4 separate regions of the Homo sapiens genome follow, and regions 2, 3 and 4 are each linked to region 1. Evidence: promoter capture Hi-C in 16 types of primary human blood cells and fetal thymus (Javierre and others, 2016). All regions are on one chromosome and are shown on one strand. The core of a region is centred on a gene start or on the middle of the fragment in contact, and the rest is flanking DNA. Distances in the headings are between cores, read along the strand shown.

Region 1 (3,446 bases), core at 670-3,169:
TGGCTTCTGTGTGCCACCTTCCCAACTCACGGGGGACACCCACCCTCTACCACGAGACACTCTGCCTTCCTGCCCTCCCCAGCCCTGGCAGCCAGAACCAAGCCTTGCTATTCCCCCAGGCAAGGGGCCCCTTCCCAGCTCCTCCTTGGCAGAGTAACATCTAGTGCCCCCACCCCTGTAGGTGCTGACCGCAGTGCGCCTACCCCTGCACCACGAACCAAGCACTAACTCCAAGCCAGCTCTCCCCATCGTGGGCTGACTCATCATCACCATGCAACTGGCCCCAACTAGGTTCTTAAAGCCCGCCCCACCCCACACCCCACAACCTAATTCTTCCCTGTGTGAGGGTCTGACTCCACCCAACACACACACACACACACACACACACACACACACACACACACACACACTCCTGTGTCTCTCTAGCTTATTTCAAAATCCAAATTAGGGTTGGGGCACTTCCCAAGGGGCTGGAAGGCGAGGTCAATGTCAATGCCAGCTCTGGTCTGAGAGGGCAAAGGACGTAGAAAAAGAAGGCTCTGCTTTCTGAATTACTAGGGAGGATGGGGGAGTATTACTACCGAGGAAAGGCTAATTTCCTCCCAGTGGACCGCTGACAGCACTAGGGCTGGGGCTGGGGTCGCAGTGGGGCGGCGGCTGGCATCGGATCTCCGCTCACAGCACGGAGGCAGCCTCTCTAGGTGCCCGCTCCGAGAAAGCCAGGCAGAGTCCCCGCCGGCTGGCGCCGTCACTGCCTTGGAACACGCGGGCTCTGCTCGAGTCCTGGGCTGACCTACGGTGGAGATGAGGGGCAGTGCTCCCGGGTGCCAGCTCCTGGGGGCAGCCAGCACCGCTCGTAGCGGACCAGTTCCAGGGCCAGGAAGGCGAAGCGAGAGCCGCAAAAGGCTCCCGGCTCCTCGAGGGGCGCGTCTTCCCATAGCTGGACCGAATTTGGGAGGATGTGTAAGTCCCCTGGGGTCTCCCGCGGGCACAGGGACTTGATGAGGGGAGGGGAGAACTACGTGCCTTTAGTTCCCCTCAGCGCCTCTGCCCAGCCCGCAGTAGGGGTGCGCCCCACCCCATCCCCACTGTCCAAATGGGGACCCAGGGCTCAGAAGGGGAGGGGATTGGATCCCAACGCGCTCCACTCTCGAAAATCTCTCCACCCCAGACCTGGACCCTCTCCGTAGCGCCGAGAGCAAAGCCCCCAAATGTTCGCGGTCCCAGGACCGGGGATGGGGGATGGGATGCCTGTCCTCCCAAGGCCAACGCGAATGGAATTCGAGTTCCCAGGAATCAAAGTTGCCGCGCGTCGGGGAGCTCGGAGCGGGGCGCGAGGCTAGGGCCAGGGGCCTGGGACCGAAGGATGCCGCGAGCGCCCGCCACGGGCGATGGCCGCGCTGGGAACAAGTGGTTCGGCAGCCGCGGTCACCACCAACTTCCCCGCCGCGCGGCGGGCGAACGGCGAGGGGAAGGAGAGGGAAGCGAGGAGGGAAGAGGCGGTGCGTGGCTCCGGGTACCGTGTGCGTGTGTGCAGCGGCGCCGCGCCTCGCCTCGCCTCGGGCTCTGCTCTCCGCCGGATCGGCCCCCGCGGGCCGCCTGCTCTGGCCCTGGCCACCGCCGCGTCTTCCCGCCGGCGCGAAGGCTCATCCGCGGCGTGCCGGCAGCTCCTGGGTCTCCGCGGGCCGCTCGCCGCTCGCCGCTCGCCGCTCGCAACTTCAGGCGCGCCGGGGGCTCGGACTGGGCGCGCCCCAAACGTCCAGAGGCTCTGCCACCCCGCGCTCCATGCCCAGGCCGGGCTGACTAGCCCCGACCACCTCAGCGTCCGGCCGCCGTCGGACGCGTCCTCTAGCCAAGCATCGCGCCTGCAGCCCGCGTCCCTCTCTCCCGAGCCGCCGCCGCCGCTCAAGTCCGCGATCAACTTTCCCTTGCTTCCCCCGCCCCGCTCGGCCCCCGCCCCGCTCGGCCCCCGCCGTCCAGACCCCGCCTCCCGCAGCTCCCTCCCTCACCTCCCGCCTCGCCCGGCCCCCGCCCGCCCGCCCGCGCTCGGCGCTCCCCCACCCCTCAGGCCGCCAGGACCCCCGAGCTCCCGCCCGGCCCCGCCCGGACCCCCGGGAGCGGCGCCGAGCCCCGCCGGGCGCTCAGGGCATGAATATTTCAGTGCTGGCGAAGCTGCCCTCTGCCGATGTCATGGCACCGGCTGCTGTGGCAACTCTACGAATCCCCCAAAGGGGCAGGGAGGAAGCCCGCGGAAGAGGCCCCAGGTGCGAGACAGAGCAGTGCCCCGCCAGGCCGCCAGCCGTCCCGCAGAGGGGCGCGCAGGGGGATGGGGCCCCCAGCGTCTCGTCCGCCCCGCGCCTCAGGCAGAGCGAGGTAACGCTCCCGGGAAGCCCGGGCGGGCGAGCGGGCGCTCGGCCTAGGTGAGCCCGCGCCATCTGTTGGCTTTAAGCGCCCCCTCTCTGCTCCCAGAGTCGCTGAGCAGTCCCTCTAGTCCTTGGGGCCTCTTGGCCTACGCTTCTCTCCAACCAGCTGCCTTTGCCCACCCGACTCGTGCGCTCCCATCTGCGCCTCCTCCCTCACTAGAGCTCAAGAGGCCTCCAAGTGCTTAGAAATGGAGGACCCCGGGTTGGAGGAGACCCGTGAGGTCACTTAGGCGCCCTCACCCCTGCGGGAGCTCCGTCTGCAGTGCCCGAGTCATGGTCTCCCGGCTCCTTTTTGCACACCTATAGGGACAGAGACTTTATGGCTTTCTGAGACAGCTGGATCAAGAAAGGGTCCATATGCAGGTAATGGAAGAGGTTTATCCCCTACCTTTGATCTTTACTTCCCCGGGGCTAAGCATTCTGATTTTTTAAAACTATTTCTCACATGACAGGATTTCCGAGCTGTCACTGTTCCAGTCAGTACATTGACAGTACCTGCCTGGAGCCAGGCTCTGGGCTGAGACTTTCTGGGCCTCAACTCATTCTATCTTCAATAAAGTCTTTCTGGTGGGCCCTGCCATTATCCCAGTTTTACAGTGAGAAACAGGCTTTAGGAGGTTGGGGACTTGCCCCTGTGGTGGAGTCGGGTATTGAACCCAGAATCTATCTGGTTCCAAAGCTCCAGTTCCTTACCATTCGCTCATTCATTATTCATTCATTCATTCACAGTCACTGCTATGTGCTAGCTAACTGAAATAGTTTCTAGGAATAGGATGGAGAACAAAACAGGCTTGGTCTTTGTGCCCCATGAAGCTTCTCTAGTAGGGGAACCAGACATTCATCAATGAAACACATAAGCAGGTAAAATTACAGCCAGAATCAGTGCTAGGAAGAAGAGTGCTTTAATGGCGCCTGGCCGAGGGGATCAGGGAAGACCTCCTAGAGGAGGTGACTGAGCTGAAGGATGAGCAAGGGAGAGAGAGTGGAGTTTTAGGCAGGAGAAACAGCATGTGCAAAGGCCCC
Region 2 (3,446 bases), core at 648-3,147, 500 kb before region 1:
CAGTGTTACTGGGTGTGGGTGCCCCCTAAAGCAGATACAGCTTAGATCACAACACCCAAGTCCTTTCAATATCTGGAAAGTCTTCCTAAGAAGGACGGGTACAGCTGGGCGCGGTGGCTCACGCCTCTAATCCCAGCACTTTGGGAGGCTGGGGAGAGTGGATCACGAGTCCAGGAGTTCAAGACCAGCCTGGCCAAGATGGTGAAACCCCATCTCTACTAAAAATACAAAAATTAGCCAGGCGTGGTGGCAGGCGCCTGTAATCCTAGCTACTTGGGAGGCTAAGGCAGAGAATTGCTTGAACCCGGAAGGCAGAGGTTGCAGTGAGCCGAGATCGCACCACTGCACTCCAGCCTGGGTGACAAAGTGAGACTTGATCTCAAAAAAAAAAAAAAAAAAAAAAAAGACAACTAAGGCTAGACAATGAAGACTGCAATAAATACTGAACTCTTCAATGCCCAGACACCGAAGAACATCTGCTAGCAGCATGACCCAGGAAAACATGACCTCCCCAAATGAACCAAATTAGACACCAGGGACCAATCCTGGAGAAACAGAGCTCTGACCTTTCAGACAGAATTCTGTTTGAGGAAACTCAAAGAAATTCAAAATAACACAGAGAAGGAATTCAGAATTCTATCAGATACATTTAACAAAGGGATTGAAATAATTAAAAAACATCCAGAGCAGAATTTCTGGAGCTGAAAAATGCAATTGGCATACTGAAGAATGCATCAGAGTCCTTTAATAGCAGAATTGGGCTGGGCGCAGTGGCTCATGCCTGTAATCCCAGCACCTTGGGAGGCCGAGATGGGTGAATCACCTGAGGTCAGGAGTTGGAGACCAGCCTGGCCAACATGGTGAAACTCCGTCTCTACTAAAATTGCAAAAATTAGTTGGGCATGGTGGTGGGCACCTGTAATCCCAGCTGCTCGGGAGGCTGAGGCAAGAGAATCGCTTGAACCTGGGAGGTGGAGGTTGCAGTGAGCTGAGATCTGGCCACTGCATTCCAGCCTGGGCAAGAGAGTGAGACTAAACAACAAAAAGTTAAAAAGTTGCCAAGACAGTATTAAATTGAAACAAAAATCAAGAAGCTTTTAAAAACAAAGTTAAAAAGCAGGAGATGCTGGGCACCATGGCTCATGGCTGGAATGACAATACATTAGGGGGCCGAAATGAGAGGATCACTTGAGCTTGGGAGCTTGAGACCAGACTGGGCAACATGGTGAGATCCCCATCTCTACAAAAAAAAAAAAAAAAACCCCAAAAAACAAAAAAAACAAAAAAAACTTAGTCGGATGTGGTGGCACATGTTTGTAGTCTGTGGTGGAAGGTGAGCCATGATTGTGCCACTGCATGCACACCAGCCTGGGTAACAGACTGAGACTCTGTTTCAAAAAAAAAAAAAAAAAAATGCGAGGGGACTAAGTTAAGAGGTAGTTTTGTTTGTTTGTTTTGTTTTGAGACAGAGTCTTGCTCTGTCAGCCAGGCTGGAGAGCAGTGGCACAATCTCGGCTCACTACAATCTCGGCTCACTGCAACCTCTGTCTCCCAGGCTCAAGCTATTGTCCTCCCTCAGCCTCCTGAGTAGCTGGGATTACAGACACGTGCCACCATGCCCAGCTAAGTTTTGTATTTTTAGTATAGATGGGGATTCACCATGTTGTCCATGCTGGCCTCGAACTCCTGACCTCAAGTGATCTGCCTGCCTTGGCCTCTCAAAGTGCTGGGATTACAGGCATGAACCACCATGCCCAGCCAGGAATCACATTTCAACATGAGATTTGGAGGACAAACGTCCAAACCGTATCAACCTTTATGCTTCTTTTTGGCTTCCAGGAAAAACAAGACCCCTCTCTCAGGTGCCCTTAAAGAACCCCATCCTTTTTCACAGCATCTAACCAAACTTTGGTTTTTTGAGACTAAATTTTTTTTGTTCCCTCACCAAATTATAAGTCCCATGTGGGCAGGACCTGGGCCCCTTTTGCTTCTCACTGTGTCCTCAGTGACTAGGACAGTGCCTGGCACTTTGCAGGTGCTCAAACATCTTTTCTTGGTTACATGAAAGAGTGAATGGCTTTTTTGAGCACCTACTAGAGATTAAAAGTTTTATAGATGTCAAGTTTTCCTAAAGCCAAGCACAGTGGTGGCCCGGTTTGGCACTCAATAACTTACTGAGTCCTTGCCACCCAGGTCTGCGTTCTGTCTCTCTGGGTTTAGGGGTCTGGGATGTGGCCTTCCCTAGGGCTGCTATGAGTTGCTGTGGAGGCAGAGAAGACAAGGCTTAGCCTGCTAGCTGGAGCACTTCAGGCATCATTACTGTGGGCAGCTCTGTGAGGTCACTCCTGCCCCAATCCCTGGGCACCCGGCTGAGTGTGAGGCTTTGAGGACCAACCTAGAGATTAGGAACAGGGTTTTAGGCCAGGCATGGTGGCTCATGCCCATAATTCCAGCACTTTGAGAGACCAAGGTGAGAGGGTCACTTGACCCGAGGAGTCGGGGATCAGCCTGGGCAACATAGTGAGTCCCCTTAGCTACACTTAAATTTAAAAAAATAGAAAAGAAGGAACAGAAAATAGAAAAGAAGCAAATAGAAATAGAAAAGAAAAAGAAAAGCAAGTATAATAGAAATAGAAAAGAAGCAAATACTGTATTCTTCTGCCGTCTCATGGTCAGTCCTAGAATAGCAAGGGAAGCTTCCCCACCTCTCTGGTACTATACTGGGAGTGACCGCCAGAGGGCAGTGTTCTCCACATTGTTGCACCCAATAGGTGTCCCACCACACAAACCCAGCTCTTTAAAAAGTAGATTTTTTTCTTATCCAAAGTCGATTCATACAAAAAGAAAAAGAAATAAAAAATAAATTATTTTAATGGCTTCATTGCTACATGTTTGTTTTTTTGAAAAGGAGTCTTGCTCTGTCGCCCAGGCTGGAGTGCAGGGGGGTGATCTCCCCTCACTGCAACCTCCGCCCCCTGGTTTCAAGCGATTCTCCTGCCTCAGCCTCCGAGTAGCTGGGTTTACAGGCATGAGCCACCACGCCCGGCTAATTTTTGTATTTTTAGTAGAGACAGAGTTTCACCATGTTGGCCAGGCTGTTCTTGAACTCCTGACCTCAAGTGATCTGCCCACCTTGGCCTCCCAAAGTGCTGGGATTACAGGCGCGAGACACCGAGCCCAGCCCTCATCTCTATTTTAAATTATAAAAAAATTTTTAAAAGAATTATTGAGGACCCAGATATTTATTAATTTATCAAAAAGTAATAATGAACTCATTACATGTAAACATAAACATATTTTTACGAAAAATACCTTCATTTCCAAAACAAAGAGAAATTTAGTGAGAAAAACAGCATTGTTTTACACTTTTGCAAATCTCTCAAGCAACTGTCTTAATTAAAGACTGTTGGAGCCTCATGTCTACTTCTGCATTCAGTCTGTTGCAA
Region 3 (3,446 bases), core at 314-2,813, 280 kb before region 1:
TGAGGCAGGAGGATGGCTTGAGGTCAGGAGTTCAAGACCAGCCTGGCCAACATTAGCAAAACCCCATCTCTACTAGAAATACAAAAATTAGCTGGGCGTGGTGGCACGACTGTAATCCCAGCTACTCGGGAGGCTGAGGCTGGAGAATTGTATGAACCCACAAGGCGGAGGTTGCAATGAGCCGAGATCGAGCCACTGCACTCCAGCCTGGGTGACAGAGTAAAACTCTGTCTCAAAAAAAAAAAAAAAAAGAAAAAGAAAAAAAAAAAAGAAAGACAGAGGGATGTAGATTTCATAGAGAATGCAATTTCTTTTTCTTTTTTTTTTTTTTTTTGAGACGGAGTGTCACTCTGTCACCAGGCTGGAGTGCAGTGGTGCAACCTGGGCTCCCTGCAACCTCCGCCTCCCAGGTTCAAGTGATTCTCCTGCCTCAGCCTTCCGAGTATCTGGGATTACAGGTGCACACCACCACGCCTGGCCAATTTTTGTATTTTTAGTAGAGACAGGGTTTCACCATGTTGGCCAGGCTGGTCTCAAACTCCTGACCTCAATTGATCCGCCGGTCTCGGCCTCCCAAAGTGCTGGGATTACAGACGTGAGCCACCGCGCTGGTCAGAACTGCAATTTCTACAGTGGCATTTCTCTGAACTGAACTAACTGTGGGGTAGTGGGAGGAATGACCACTGGACCCAGAGTCACTCAACGCACATCGATTCCTTCTGCCCTGGGGGCACCTAACCCAGGCTCCAGGAATCAGAGAAGCTTCCCAAAGGAGGAGGTGTTAAATGAGCCCTTAAAGCTAGCCAGGGGCTACACACTGGACAGCCAAAGGGAGGCAGGACCAAGGGGCAAGGAGGAAGGGCTTTCCTGGCAGAAGGAACAAACTCTGCAAAGACATGGGGGTGAACACCAGTAAGGGGAGACAGTGTCAAAGTGTTCAAAGAGGCTGGACTCTGGTGGGGCAAGGGCTGCTGAGAGCTGAGGCTCGCAAGGCAACCAAGGGCCAGACCACACGGGGACTTGGTGCCAAGCTCAGCAGCTTTGCAGGGTGAGCTCAGGCAAGTTGCTCCCTGTCTCTGGGCCTTAGCTGCTTTATCTGAAAAACAAAATAGTCTCTCTTGGGATCTTGGAGCTTGAGGTTGCTGCTATTTCCTACCAGGGCTCTAGGGATGGGGACCCACAGCAGGCAGCAGGGCATGGTGCAGAGTGCCTGGTCCCACACGGCCGCCCAAAAAGTAGGGAGTCTTGGCTAAAGAGCTTCCATCCCACGGACCTGCCTGCAGCCTTGGTAAGAAACAGAGAACCCCAGAGATTCTGTTAACATCACACTTCTGGCTCGATTGCAGGGCTGGCCATGGCCTAAGAACCAGAGAGAGATCCTGCTGATGAGGGACACAGATGTTGACCCTACGGAAGGGCGACTCAGGCCACATCCTGCTCCACCCCAGGTGCTCCGGGCAGCTTCCTGAGTAGCCCAGAGTGTCAGGGAGACAAGGAGTGCCCGCCTCATCCCCACAAGGGAGGTGTGAGTGCAGAGAGCCCCCCAGCCCTCCTCCTGGCTGGGCCCCGAGTTCTGCCCCACACCTACCTCCATAGCCCTCGTACAGGCTGATGTCGAAGTAGCTGCCAAAGGCAGATGCACTGACAATGCTGTAGGTGATCTGGTTGTTGGGAGGGGAGTCTTCATCTGTTGCCTGAAAGGAAGAGGGCAGACAAGGGCCGTGAGCCTGCAGGAGACTGGGGGCCAGAAGAGGGTGGGCAGCTGGGAGGGTGGGGAAGACTGGCCCTGTTCACAGCTCCTTTTTTGGGTGATCCAGCCCTGGGTCTTGTCCTGGCCCAGGACGCCAGGAGGCACCCCTTGTGCTTCAACTGGAGGCCGCACTCTGGCTCCCAGCAGACGCCCTGCTCCCCTCCATGTGCTGGGTGTGGAGGCAGCCTGGGGAATCTAGAGGGCAGGTGGGAGGCGCAGGAATAATGCAGAGGCCGGGCCTTCCCAGAGGCTGAGACACAATTACCTCCCACCCCCAACCCCAGCTGGAACACCCCCACCTGCAGATGCCCTCCCTGACTCCCGGAGCCGGTTAGGGCCCTAGGGTTGCATACCCCATTGGTCCCCTTACACCCAGTGGTAATTTCTTATCTAATTTCTGCCTCCCTCACTTAGACCGTCAGCTTCATGTGAGCAGGAACCTTGTTTCTTGATTGCTGCTGCATACCTACAGGCCAACACAGTATTTGGCCACAGTGGGTGTCTAATCCATGCATGTTGCATGAAAGCAAGGAGGAAAGAAGGCACCTGGAGTGGGGCCAGGGATCCCTCTACCCCTTGACTGTCTTCTCTGGGAGCTGAATTAATAAGCTTCTTTCCAGGTTGTCCCTCACTCTAGAGCCTCCAGTGGTCCCCACCACTCCGGGTACACCTGGAGCTGAGCAGGGAGGGCAGGGCAGGACAGGGTTGTACGGGGGGCCGTGGCCAGGCTGGGCGGGCACATGTTCTGTTCTTCTTGGTATCCCCTGTGCTCACCCTTCCAGCCTTGCCTTCATCCCTACCTGCTTCAGAAACAAGTTCCAAATGGAGGCTCTGGGTCCCATCCCTTGGGGTAGGCAGCATGGGGAAGGGGGGACATTTAAAAGTCTCTGGTTAAAGGTCACTGAAGCCTAGTGGGGGACTTGCTGCAGGAAGCACTTGGAGAATAGCATTCCGGGACTAGACCTGGCTCTGCTACCCGACTATGTCTTCGTGGGCAAGCCTCCTCCCCTCTGGGTTCCCCTTCTGTAAAATGGGGTTGCACTCCATGGTCTCTGTGGCTCCTTCCAGCTGCAGCACTTCCTGATTCTAGTCAGTCGTTAAAGGGCTTGGAGGAGGTCCTGACACAGGGAACTGCTCCCCACTCAATGCCCTTGCTAAGGGAGATGGCAGTGGATGGGTCGGGGGGTGGGATCTTTTGCTAAATTCTGACCTAATATTTAAGCTGAGACAGACACTGTGTATAAAGCCCCACTTGGTACCAAGGATATGAGGCGTTGCTCAGAGAAGGCCCAACACAGACCAAGAATTTGACTCTGAAATCTGTGCAGTATTCTTTGCGGATAGAAGGTCAGCCCCTCTTGCAGTGGGTTCCCTAGGGGGTTGGTCAAGAAGAAAGCACAGGCTAGGCACGGTGGCTCAAGCCTGTAGTCCCAGCTGCTAAGGAGGCAGAGACAGGAGGATTGCTTGAGCCCAGGAGTTTGGGGCCGCAATGAACTCTGATTGTACCACTGCACTCCAGCCTGGGTGAAAGAGTGAGACCTGTCTCATAAAAACAAAAACAAAAAAGAAGCAAGCAAGCAAGTACAGGGAGAAGGCTAAGATAAATGGCAGGAGTGCAGGGCTCCCTGGCACCTTACCCGGAGCCGCACCAGCTGTGTGACAGAAGGCTCGTTCTCCCGCAGAGCACCCACGTAGG
Region 4 (3,446 bases), core at 650-3,149, 260 kb before region 1:
CTCGAGAGGTGACACATGCCAGTTACCAGGAAAAGTGGGCTTTTTAAGGCGGTGCTGCCAAGGAGGCTGGCCCTGAGGTTCAGCAGATTTTGATGGTCTCCAATAGGAAGGAGGGAGAGGCAGGTGAGTAGCAAGTAAAGACGCCGTGGCAAGAAAATGCTGAGGGTTGAGGGGTGTTGAGGATCTGAGTGGGCAGGAGAGAAGGGTGTGAGGGGTATGGGGGCAAGGGCTGGAATAGCAGCTCAAGGCCAGGCTGCAGAGGCCAACCCAGGTCTAGAAGGCTTGAATTCCACTGGCCAGGGAGTGCCTGGGACAGCAGGGATCACTGTCTTTTCACTTCCCAGTCACGGAGAGCTCGTCCCAGGCTGGAAAGGGGATTTGCAGGTTTCCCTTCTGCTCTCCTGCTTCCTTTTGTGCCCTCCAGGAGGAGGTGAGGGAAATTGTGGCATCATGGCACTGTGCTCATGCATGACTGCTCAGAAGTGGTATGGAAAAGTGACCTCTGAGTGTTTCTATGACATTTACGTGTGTGTAAATTCTTGGACGTTCTCTCCATTGACAGCTGGGGAGATCTACGTCCTCTCTCCTTGAATCTGGACTTGCCCTGGTGACTTAAAACCAACAGAATTCAGCAGAAATGATGCAGTGTGACTTGGAGGCTGGGTTGAAAAACGCCACGCAGCTTCTGTCTGGATCTCTTGGGACACTCCTCCCCCAGAGGCCTCCCTGGGGGTGCGCCTGCTCAGAACTCCCATGCTGGGAGATGTCCGGACACGTGGGGAGGCTACATGTGGGTGCTTGGGCCACAGTCCGGCTGCACTCACCCTTCAGCCAAATGAGCCAAGGGCACAGTCGTGGCAGGGTGAGAACACCATCAGAATGGATCCTCCGGGCCCTCTGTTTCCAGACTCCAGCTGGTCGAGTCACCTCAGATCCCAAGGAAAGAGAAGGCCTCCCTACCGCACCCTTTCTGTATTCCTGACCCACCAAATCCATGAGCCATTTGTATTAAAAACAGCTATTGCTTTATGCCACTAAGTTTGGGTGGTTTCTTATGCGGCAATAAGAACTGAAGCAAGCTCTGTGGGAACAGAAGGCCCCAGCACTTCAGCCTTTGCTGACTGTTGACTGAATGTAGGGATCGATGAAAACCGTGGAGAGCCACTGAGTTTATTTGGGCAGAGAATGATAAACTCCTGTGCCAGGGCAAGCCACGTAAGCTGCAGGGCCCAGAGTAACATGAGCACGCAGGGCCTCTGTTCAGAAATTATCAGAATTTCAAGATGGTGACAGCAGAGCATTCCACCAAGTTTGGGGCCCTTCCGAGTCCATGTCCCCAGACCACCGCACAGGTCGCACACCTGGCAGCAACTATCGTCTGCGTCCCTCCGAAGAGGCTTGGTTCTCACCTGCAAGCTTGTTTAACCTTTCTCTGTGTTCTGTTCCTTGAGGCTAGACTCAGTGTGTTGGCTTCCCGGGGTTGAGCACAGACAAAAACTCAACCAACGCACCAACTGAGAGGACCCAGAGTCTAGGGAAGTCACAGCCAAAGGCAGAAAATCTAGGAACCAAGAGACCCAAGCTTAAATACCAATGCTCTCTGAAGTTCCACCGACTCCCAGATAAGACACCTGCCATTTACCCAGTGCCTTCTAATACACAAAGTGCTTTAAATGCCCCGTCTCTCTTCATTGTGGGATAAGTATTATTATTATTCTCTCTACAGCACACTCTGGAGACTGAGGGTCAGGACACAGCTAAGCACCTGCCCAGGGCCATAGAGACAGCAGGCAGCAGAGCCAGAATTTGAAGCTGGGTTTCTGGTTCCAAAGCCTTGCTCCTATAGCAAGGTTCCCTCCTGCAGTAGTAGATAGATACAGCTGAGAGGCTTCCACAGATGTTGCAGAGCAACATGTCCTTCTGCTGGGGGCAGAGGGACCAGGGAGGAACTGGGGTTTGCCCCAGGGAGCACCAAGACTAAGACAGGCAGTGAACTGGCTTTCCTGGATCATCTGGCTGGGCTATTAGGTTTCCAGCACCTTGAGTAGAACCCATGTTAGAGTTCTTGGATTCAGCAGCATGGAGGGACAGGGGTGATCTCTGAGCCTGAAGGCTGGGGGTGTCCTGACAGTTACAGAGCAGAGGGAGAGGCCCTGTGGCCTTACAGCTGGTGGAACAGGCCTGCTGCATTTGAAGTCCTCCAGGATTGAAGCTTGCCTTCAACACGGCCAGCCCAGGGCAATGACATCATACCCACCTTTTCCTTGTGGGGTCAATGCTGTGGGTGGGAGGGGAAGGAGAGATGGGGACAAACAGCAATGGGGCTGACATTGATGCAGCAGGGCTGTCTGCTGATGTGGCAGGAGAGGGAGGCTGGGCTGGACCAGGAGGAAAAGCCAGTTAGCTCTAGGAGGGGGAAGTGAAGTCCTGGGGAATCTTCCTGAGACTTCCAGATGGGAGCTGAGAGAGGAGGGGTAGGGCAGGAGACGGGCTCTAGAGGCCAGTGGGTGGGTGGGGACCCTTGCAGGGTGGGTGGCACGTTCATGTTGCTGGGCATGAAACTAAACAGCAAGAATGGCTCCCCTTTCTCCTTGGACAGTGCAAATTGGAATTAAAGCCTCACCAACCCAGAAGGCCCTGAACCAGCCCCTGGCCCAGTCATCTCACTGGGACCCAGAGGTTCAGTGACTGGCCAAGGTCACATGGCTGCCTGAGGCAGGGCCACAGCTCTGAGGGTGGTGTCCTTGCCCAGGGCCCGTGCTCCCTGGAGGCTCAGCCAGGAGGCCAGGCATGACTTGCTGACATTTCCAGCGTGTGTTCCTAGCCAGCCTCTGTGCTGTGTCTTCATGAATCATTTCATTTGATTCTCACAACAATCCTCCAAGGTAGGCTCCTAGCAGGTTATCTCCCCCAGCTCACAGAAGAGGAAACTGAGGCCCGGTGTCTTGTCCAGGGTCCACTGCGGCAGAGCTGGGCTTGTCCACAGGCCGAAGGGCTGGTGGGCAGCCAGGTGAGACCCTGAAGGCCAGTGATGAAAATACCCACTCCTGCCATCTGTAAATCTTACCTGTTTACACCACATCACTGCAATGGGTCTCCCAACAACCCAGCACTGCAGGCTGCGCAGGCACTACTTTCCCATTTCATAGGAAAAAAGCCAAGTCCCAGAGAAGGAGTGACCAGCTCATAGTAAGACAGGATTGCAGGGACTCCCTGGATGTCTTGTGGCCCTGCCCAAGATGCTGCCAGCCTCCCAAGGACAGGCTGGGAAGAGGGGGCAGGGAGATGAGAGAGGAGCAGGCTTTTAGGCCACCTCCAGCCAGCCCTGTCTGTCTGGAGCTGAGAGGTGGAGCTCTACCCACGGCTCAGCAAACCACAAGCTGGTCCTGGGGCCCCACACCTGCCCAGTCAGGACTTTTCAGGGCCTCTCCTTTCTTGGCTTCCTC

Evidence for each region. The method cuts DNA at HindIII sites, captures the fragments that hold promoters and counts their contacts. A CHiCAGO score of 5 or more calls a contact.
Region 2: a fragment that was not itself captured here is called in contact with the fragment with the promoter of CDH23 in region 1 in 7 of 17 cell types (naive B cells, erythroblasts, total B cells and 4 more); the score reaches 6.3 in naive B cells.
Region 3: a contact is called between a fragment that was not itself captured here and the fragment with the promoter of CDH23 in region 1, in 5 of 17 cell types (endothelial precursors, megakaryocytes, total CD4 T cells and 2 more). The highest score is 6.4, in endothelial precursors.
Region 4: a fragment that was not itself captured here is called in contact with the fragment with the promoter of CDH23 in region 1 in 3 of 17 cell types (endothelial precursors, megakaryocytes and M2 macrophages); the score reaches 7.0 in endothelial precursors.

The regions. Positions count from the first base shown.
Region 1 is chr10:71,395,393-71,398,838 of GRCh38, reverse strand. CDH23 (cadherin related 23) reads right to left here and starts at 1,919. Exons shown (of 70, transcript NM_022124.6): 1 at 1,521-1,919. RefSeq lists an enhancer at 1,116-1,627 and a silencer at 2,311-2,400. The HindIII fragment of the contact is 8,970 bases long and covers 1-3,238 here.
Region 2 is chr10:71,895,859-71,899,304 of GRCh38, reverse strand. No RefSeq gene overlaps it. Among named protein-coding and RNA genes, the nearest start is that of LINC03139, 19 kb to the right of the region's middle. The HindIII fragment of the contact is 1,602 bases long and covers 1,097-2,698 here.
Region 3 is chr10:71,677,635-71,681,080 of GRCh38, reverse strand. It overlaps CDH23 (cadherin related 23), which reads right to left. Exons shown (of 70, transcript NM_022124.6): 16 at 3,388-3,446; 17 at 1,589-1,694. Among named protein-coding and RNA genes, the nearest start is that of C10orf105, 40 kb to the left of the region's middle. The HindIII fragment of the contact is 1,597 bases long and covers 765-2,361 here.
Region 4 is chr10:71,652,074-71,655,519 of GRCh38, reverse strand. The region is part of intron 14 of CDH23 (cadherin related 23); the gene reads right to left. Among named protein-coding and RNA genes, the nearest start is that of C10orf105, 66 kb to the left of the region's middle. The HindIII fragment of the contact is 630 bases long and covers 1,585-2,214 here.